Regions from separate parts of the Homo sapiens genome. Here region 1 is linked to region 2. The links are contacts of gene promoters, found by promoter capture Hi-C in human tissues and cell types (Jung and others, 2019). All regions are on one chromosome and are shown on one strand. The core of a region is centred on a gene start or on the middle of the fragment in contact, and the rest is flanking DNA. Distances in the headings are between cores, read along the strand shown.

The links. Contacts are between HindIII fragments. The study calls those that stand out against the background at their distance.
Region 1: a fragment that was not itself captured here is called in contact with the fragment with the promoter of ZSWIM1 in region 2 in 1 of the 25 tissues and cell types used here (liver).

What each region holds. Positions count from the first base shown.
Region 1 is chr20:46,392,491-46,396,042 of GRCh38, forward strand. It overlaps ELMO2 (engulfment and cell motility 2), which reads right to left. Exons shown (of 22, transcript NM_133171.5): 3 at 1,915-2,042; 4 at 1,559-1,599; 5 at 1,039-1,111; 6 at 603-653. The coding sequence starts at 1,992. LOC124904917 (a long non-coding RNA gene) reads left to right here. Exons shown (of 3, transcript XR_007067614.1): 3 at 751-3,552. Among named protein-coding and RNA genes, the nearest start is that of ELMO2, 12 kb to the right of the region's middle. RefSeq lists an enhancer at 1,744-2,243. The HindIII fragment of the contact is 3,871 bases long and covers 1-3,532 here.
Region 2 is chr20:45,879,723-45,883,280 of GRCh38, forward strand. It overlaps ZSWIM1 (zinc finger SWIM-type containing 1), which reads left to right and starts at 1,505. Exons shown (of 2, transcript NM_080603.5): 1 at 1,505-1,539; 2 at 2,811-3,558. The coding sequence starts at 2,871. RefSeq lists enhancers at 1,215-1,264, 1,515-1,594. The HindIII fragment of the contact is 12,007 bases long and covers 1-3,558 here.

The DNA.
Region 1 (3,552 bases), core at 347-2,846, 510 kb after region 2:
GTGATCTTTCTAAAACTTAAAATCTAAACATAACATATCTTCCTGCTTAAAATTCTTCAATGTCCCCAGTTTCCTTCTGGACAGAGTTGAAACCTACGAGTAGGCCATCAAGGAACCTTGAATATCTGGCTTCTCAATGACTGCTACAAGCCTCCAGCCACCCAGCACTCCTGCTTTTCCCAAACACAGCATACCTCTGTGCCTTGGCATATGCTGATTTCTCTGACTGGAATACTTTTCCTTTTCTTATTTCTCTAGCTAATTCTTGCTCATCCTTTAACATCTGAGCTAAGTGACGCCTTCTCTGGCAAGACTTTCTGGAAATCTCCAGGCTGAGTTAGGTGGTCCCCTTTGTGAGTTCCCACAGCTCCCTAAGCAACTTTCTCTCAAGACCCTTGAGACAGGCCTTCTATTGCATTTGTTTACTCCCCACTAGGTGGTGAGAACCAAGACAGACTTATTTTCCTGTACTATTTCCTGATACAAAAAGACTGACTTTCTTATCTCCAGAGTACTTATTTCTAGAACAGAGTCTGGCCCATGGTAGGTGCTCATATTTGTTTGTGACATGAATAAACTCCTAAGGAAGAAAGAATACCTACCGGGGAGATAGCCAGTTGTAAGATTGTCCCATTCTTAATGTCACTGCGAGTCTGGGTAGTGAAAAATAAACAAAAAAAGTAACTAAGATAAAATGTTAAAGTGGTACAAGCAAGTTGAATCAACAATAATGTTTTGTCTTTTTTACAGTAGATGTAACTGAGGATCTTCAGTCGGGCCCTCTTCTCCTGCTTATTCCTTGGCAAAGAATTTCTAAGATCCTCCTCTAGCACCCTGGGCACTCAGGAAGTAAAAGCCACCTTTTTCTAGCCACTAGGGAAGAACAAGGGCTGGTGTTTCCCAGTCTGTCCGGAGAGTGACTCTTTACCCAACACATGGAAGCTACCTGGATGCTGAGTGAAGATAAATAGTGCCGTCTCCTTGGGTCGTTTAATTCCAAGCAAGGCCCATATTGATTTTGCCTCTCCCTGTACTAACCTGTTCGGTGATGTACAGCTGAGGACCATCTGCATAACGGAGGGTATAATACTCTGGGTTTGGCAACGACCACCTATGCAAGAGAAAAACAGTATATCCCACTTGGCCACTCTCTTGTTCAGAAGCTGCTCATAAGTAATTTTCAAAAGAGTTGCTCAAGGGATTGGGTGGCCTATTTGGAATACAGTGGAAACAAAGCTTTAGGTTGTCATGTTGAAAAAATCATGGCCTCAGCCTTTTGTAAAGATGAGCACCACAATAGGAGGTGTGCAGAACTGAGGAGGGGTCTCAGATCCTACCTCAATAGGGCAATGCTAGACTTTAAGGAAAAAATTAAGAAGTATAAACGTCTTAGGGGTATGGTTGTCAACTGTACTTCCTTCCCAAGACAATGATTCCCAAGACCCCCATGCTGAGGACCTGCCTAACTGGAGATCCTTCCCAGAACTCCCCTCAAGGTGTAGGAGTGCTCTTTCAGTCGGAGCTGCCACTGTTGAAAACGAGGTCCATTTCAACCTACCCATCACAAACTTCCTTGATAATGGATGCCAGGGGCCGTTTCTGAAAGAGAGAGAGAGAAAGCCTTCAACAGCAGCAACATCCTACTCATGCCAAGGTTCTGACAAGAGGCCTGCCAAGCAGGGTCAAGCTGGGGCATGAGAATGAACTTCTTTCCTAACAGCTTTTGTTGAAGAGGAAGCCTCTCCCAAGCCATGGTGACCGACCTTCCCTAGGGTGGGCCAGGCCCAAAGCTTAGCCTTCCTGTTGCTCGTTCTTACTCTTGATGCCGGTGGTCCCCATCCCTCAAGATGTCCTCTGCCATGCACTCCCCAGGTGCCTTTCCTTGAACCACTGCTTCTCACTTCAGGAGCATACCTGGTCGATTTCAAGGAGCTGGGCGTTAGCACCTGGCCACTCAATGGCCACTTTGACAATGTCTGACGGTGGTGGCATCGTTCCCAATGGGCTCTAATTCTGCGAGACAAAAACACAGACACGGCTGCCTGGGGAGAAAGAATCAGAAAGGTGGAAAAAGAGTATTTCTTCATTTTTCACTCTTGTTACATGTTTTGAAGAGTTTGAAGACAGACACTGCATAAAGTAACACATGAAACTACCTGGTTTGAATTTTTCTAGATCATACCACAACTTCTGCTTAGGATTTTGTCTCTTGAGATTAAATCAGCAAGAAGAAATGGGACAAACTATCTATCATCCATAGATCAGCCAGTAGCAAGATATGCCAATGTGGCACTTCAGTTTAAGAGTCAAGAAGACTCAGTGGTAGAGGAATGTATTTACTGCAAATTCCTGTCTTGAGACCTTGGGAGGAGAGAAGCATATGCTCCGAGACAGATAAGAATAGACAGCCTTTTCTTGGTTGAGTGGTTAGCTGGAGGAGCCAGGCTACTTCTTTCTGCAGTCATCCTAGGAAGATCCCAGCATCAGCAGGGCCCAGCTACATGCTCTCTTGCTTCCTCCCCACTCATCGATGCCACCCCTTTCCCCTCAAAGGACACAATGCAAAGCCTCCTCTGTGTGGGACGACATCAGAAAATGGGGAAGATAACTGGGACAGGAAATGCTATTTTCGTCCCTACTGCCAAGGGCAAGGGCGGCTGACAACTCAAGTGGAGAGAGGTAAGGATATCCTCACACAAGGGCCCCTCTTATAAGGACAAGGCTTTGCAAGTACCTCTGACCCCCTCCCCCACTTCTCTCCAAAATAAAGGAAAATAAATCATCCTGAGCAAGTCTGGAAGATGGGCCCATGTGACTGGTATCCTAGGCAACTCTGATAGCTTACTGGTATTCCAAGCAGTAACTAAAGCATTCTCTCTCCAAGGTCTGACGAAGGGAAGTCACTTGGCTGATGGATTATTTCAATGTATATTTACACTCCTTGCCTACAAGTTCAGGAGAGGCCCCTCTCTTAATGAAAAAGACCTTTCTGCATCCTCCAGGTTTAGCCATTCACCCACAATTCATGCCTCGCTAATGGGGACCACCTGCCTCTCCTGGCGTACAAAGCATAGCTGTCGCGAGGCTATTATGCATGTATGCTATCAATTTTTCAGCCCAAACACAGATGTCAGTTCTCACAGCCTGGTAAGTATAAACCTCTTAGATGAAAAGGAGTAAAAGTCCTGTCCCCCACAAGCCCATCGGCCTCAGAAAGAGGGATGCTTTCATGACCATTTCCTAGTCAGAATGGGATGCTTCAGAAGTCTACTGTCATAAAAAGCCAGCATTTCCAGAACATGACAATGTAAAGGAACTAGTTTTCCAAGTGCTTTCACTTATTTTATTGTGTCCTCCCAGCAGCCCCACGAATTAGGCAGAACAGGATTATCACCTCCATTTGAAGATGGCACAACTAAAGCTCAGTGTTTTGTTAAGTGCCCAAGGTCACCCAGCTAGTAAGTCATAACGGTTGACAGAACTTGGACTGGCTTCGGCCAATGCTTTCCCCTTTTCCTTTGAGCCAGCCTCAACTTCTGTCCACTGCAATTA
Region 2 (3,558 bases), core at 255-2,754:
ACTGGAGGGTGTGGGGGAAAAACCTGAATCTTAGACTTGACTGCCAGCAACTTGCTGGGGAACTGTGGGCAATTTCTTTGACCTCAGTTTCCTCTGTAAAAATTAGCATGTTGGCCTGTTCTAATCCCAGATTTCCCCTCTAGGTTTACATAAGCACCTTTTTGTTTTTTGTTTTGAGATGGAGTTTCGCTCTTGTTGCTTGTTGCCCAGGCTAGAGTGCAATGGCAGAATCTCGGCTCACTGCAACCTCTGCCTACTGGGTTCAAGCGATTCTGCCTCAGCCTCTTGAGTAGCTGGGATTATAAGCATGTGCCACCACGCCTGCCTAATTTTTTGTATTTAGAGATGGGGTTTCACCATGTTGGTCGGGCTGGTCTTGAACTCCCGATCTCAGGCAATCCACCTGCCTCAGCCTCTCAAAGTGCTGGGATTAAAGGGATGACCTACTGCACCCAGCCCAATAACATTTTCGATGCGTAAGTACCAACACTGATTTGATGTTGCTAGTTGGTAATCTTAATCCTCCAAGGCCTGGTAAACACCCAGTTTTCTAAGTCTGCCATCTTCAAGGGAACTGAGGACAAGAGACCAGTTAGTAGGCCCTTGCACTACTGTAGTAGGACCCTAAATAAGTCATGGCATCATTCTGTAGAATACTGGAGGGGGTTGGGCTAGAGAATGCCAAGTTTTGGCTTGTTTAAGGGGATCTGGATTTCCTCAGCTCTAAAAGTTGGGCTCCTGATCCCCGAAGGAGGAGTAGAATTTGAGACCTGGAACTCAGTTTCCCCATAAGGTAGAATATGCGTTATGACTATATATGCACTGTTTCCTAAATTCCAGGGGCTTTAGAGTTTCACACACACACACACAACAAAACAAAACCCGCGGTGGCTCACGCCTGTAATCCCAGCACTTTGGGAGGCTGAGGTGGGCGAATCACGAGGCCAGGAGTTCGAGACCAGCCTGGCCAACAGGGTGAAACCCCGTCTCTACTAAAAATACAAAAAATTAACTGGGCGTGGTGGCGGGTGCCTGTAATCCCAGCTACTCAGGAGGCTGAGGCAGGAGAATCATCGCTTGAACCTGGGAGGCGGAGGTTGCTGTGAGTCGAGATCTTGCCACTGCACTCCATCCCAGGCGACAGTGCGAGACTCCATCTCAAAAAAAGAAAAAGAAAAAATATATATATAACTGCTATTTATTTTCCTTTTCATTTTCTGCTTTTGAGGGAGTTTCCATAGTAACGTGTCCTTCCAGTCGCCTAGCCTGAAGGGAAGCCCCGGAGCTCCAGCTTCAAGGCTCAGCTCTCCCAGATGCAAGTATCTTTACCTCCAGCCAGCTCCTTGTAACCCTGGCAACACGGCCCGCCCGCGAATCGTCACGCTACGATTGGTCCGTGGTGCTAAAGCCTGAAAGCGAATTCCTCAGACATTGGTCCGAGTCACTGCGATGCTGACGCTGTGGTTGGTGAGTTTGGATGTCAGTCAGAGTCGGAGGCAGGGTCAAATAGGGAGAAATGGCGACGGAGCCTGGCTGTGGGTGAGTGCTTCCTGAAGGGGTGAAAGTGTGAGACAGCGGATCACCGCAGTTAGCCGTCACACAGCTCCCAAAGGGATGGGAGGGAGGTTTTCTTCTCATCCGGCTCCAGCTGGACTCTGGGAATGTCAGACATCCACATCTCCCACCCAGGTTAGAGGTGAGAGGTCAAAGGCCGTATTCCCTCTGTTGGTTTTTGGACCCCAGGTACTGTGGACAGCAGTCAGGATCCCGAACCAAAGACTCAACTTTCAGCTACTTACAGAGTAATGGTGGGCAAGTCACTTAGCTTCTTTGAGCCTTAGTTTATCATCTGTAAAATGAGGACAGTAACTCGGTCTGGGGCCAAATAGAGGAAACAATGGAATAGAGTATTGCTGCTAAAAGAGGGATATAGTAGAGGCAGGAGAAGCTATGCACATTTGTTAGCCATATTTTATGGTGGAAGGGATTGAGGCTCAGAGAGGGTCATTGACTTGCCCAAGATAACACAGCAAGTTTGGAGCAATTGCAGTTCTCTTATACATACCAGGACCAAAGGAAAGAATGGATGCCAATCAGTCATTTATAAATATAAAATCGTATTTTTATTTTATTTTATTTTTTGAGACAGAGTTTCACTCTGTCACCCAGAGCTGGAGTGCAGTGGCGCAATCTCGGCTCACTGCAACCTCAGCCTCCTGGGTTCAAGCAGGTCTCCTGCCTCAGCCTCCCGAGTAGCTGAGACTACAGGCATGGGCCACCATACCCGGCTAATTCTTTTTGTATTTTTAGTAGAGACGGGTTTTCACCATGTTGGCCAGGCTGGTCTCGAACTCCCAACCTCAAGTTATCTGCCCACCTTGGCCTCCCAAAGTACTGGGATTACAGGTGTGAGCCACTGCACCTGGCTAGAATGCTATTTTTTTAAAAGGCCATATGCAGCTCTGGCCATACCTATTTAAATCCCCTGGAACCATATCTTTCCATAGCTAACTTCTTATCATTTAGATTTCAGCTCCAATGTCATCCTTCTCCCCTGAGAGGCCTTCCATTACCACTTTAACTAAAGTATCCCTCCCTTCCCCAGCTTACTCTCTGACATGTTACTCAGGTTTATGGTCTTTGTAAGCTTCATTATTGGATATATATTTGCTTATTTGTTTACATGTTTATTGTGTATCTTCCCCTAGAACAGTGCTGACATATAGTAAGTGTTCAACAAATATTGTGTGGATGAATAATTGAAGAGCCAGGTCCCTGCTGTCTCCTTAAACCTCTGTTACTCTCCATAGGCCCATCTTTGGAAAAAAGATCTGGGAATGATTGTCTAGCCTCCAGCCTCAACTTACTTGATGCTTGAGAGACTCAAAGCCCCGTGGTCAGCTGCCCTGCAAAGAAAGTATTTTGACCTTGGCATTTGGACAGCTCCCATCTCTCCCATGGCCCTGACAATGCTGAATGGGCTCCTGATTAAGGACTCAAGCCCACCTATGCTGCTGCACCAGGTTAACAAGACTGCCCAGTTAGATACCTTCAACTACCAGAGCTGCTTTATGCAAAGTGTCTTTGACCATTTCCCTGAGATCTTATTTATCCACCGGACCTATAACCCAAGGGGTAAGGTCTTATATACCTTCCTGGTGGATGGACCTCGGGTGCAGCTGGAGGGTCATCTTGCCCGAGCAGTCTACTTTGCCATCCCTGCCAAGGAGGACACTGAAGGCCTGGCCCAGATGTTCCAAGTATTCAAGAAGTTTAATCCAGCATGGGAGAGAGTCTGTACCATCCTGGTGGATCCTCATTTCCTTCCACTGCCTATCCTAGCTATGGAGTTCCCCACAGCTGAGGTCCTTCTCTCAGCCTTCCACATTTGTAAGTTCCTCCAGGCCAAGTTCTATCAGCTGTCCCTTGAACGGCCCGTGGAAAGGCTGCTCCTGACCTCCCTGCAGAGCACAATGTGCTCAGCCACAGCAGGCAACCTGAGAAAGTTGTATACACTCCTGAGCAACTGCATCCCTCCAGCCAAGCTGCCCGAGCTTC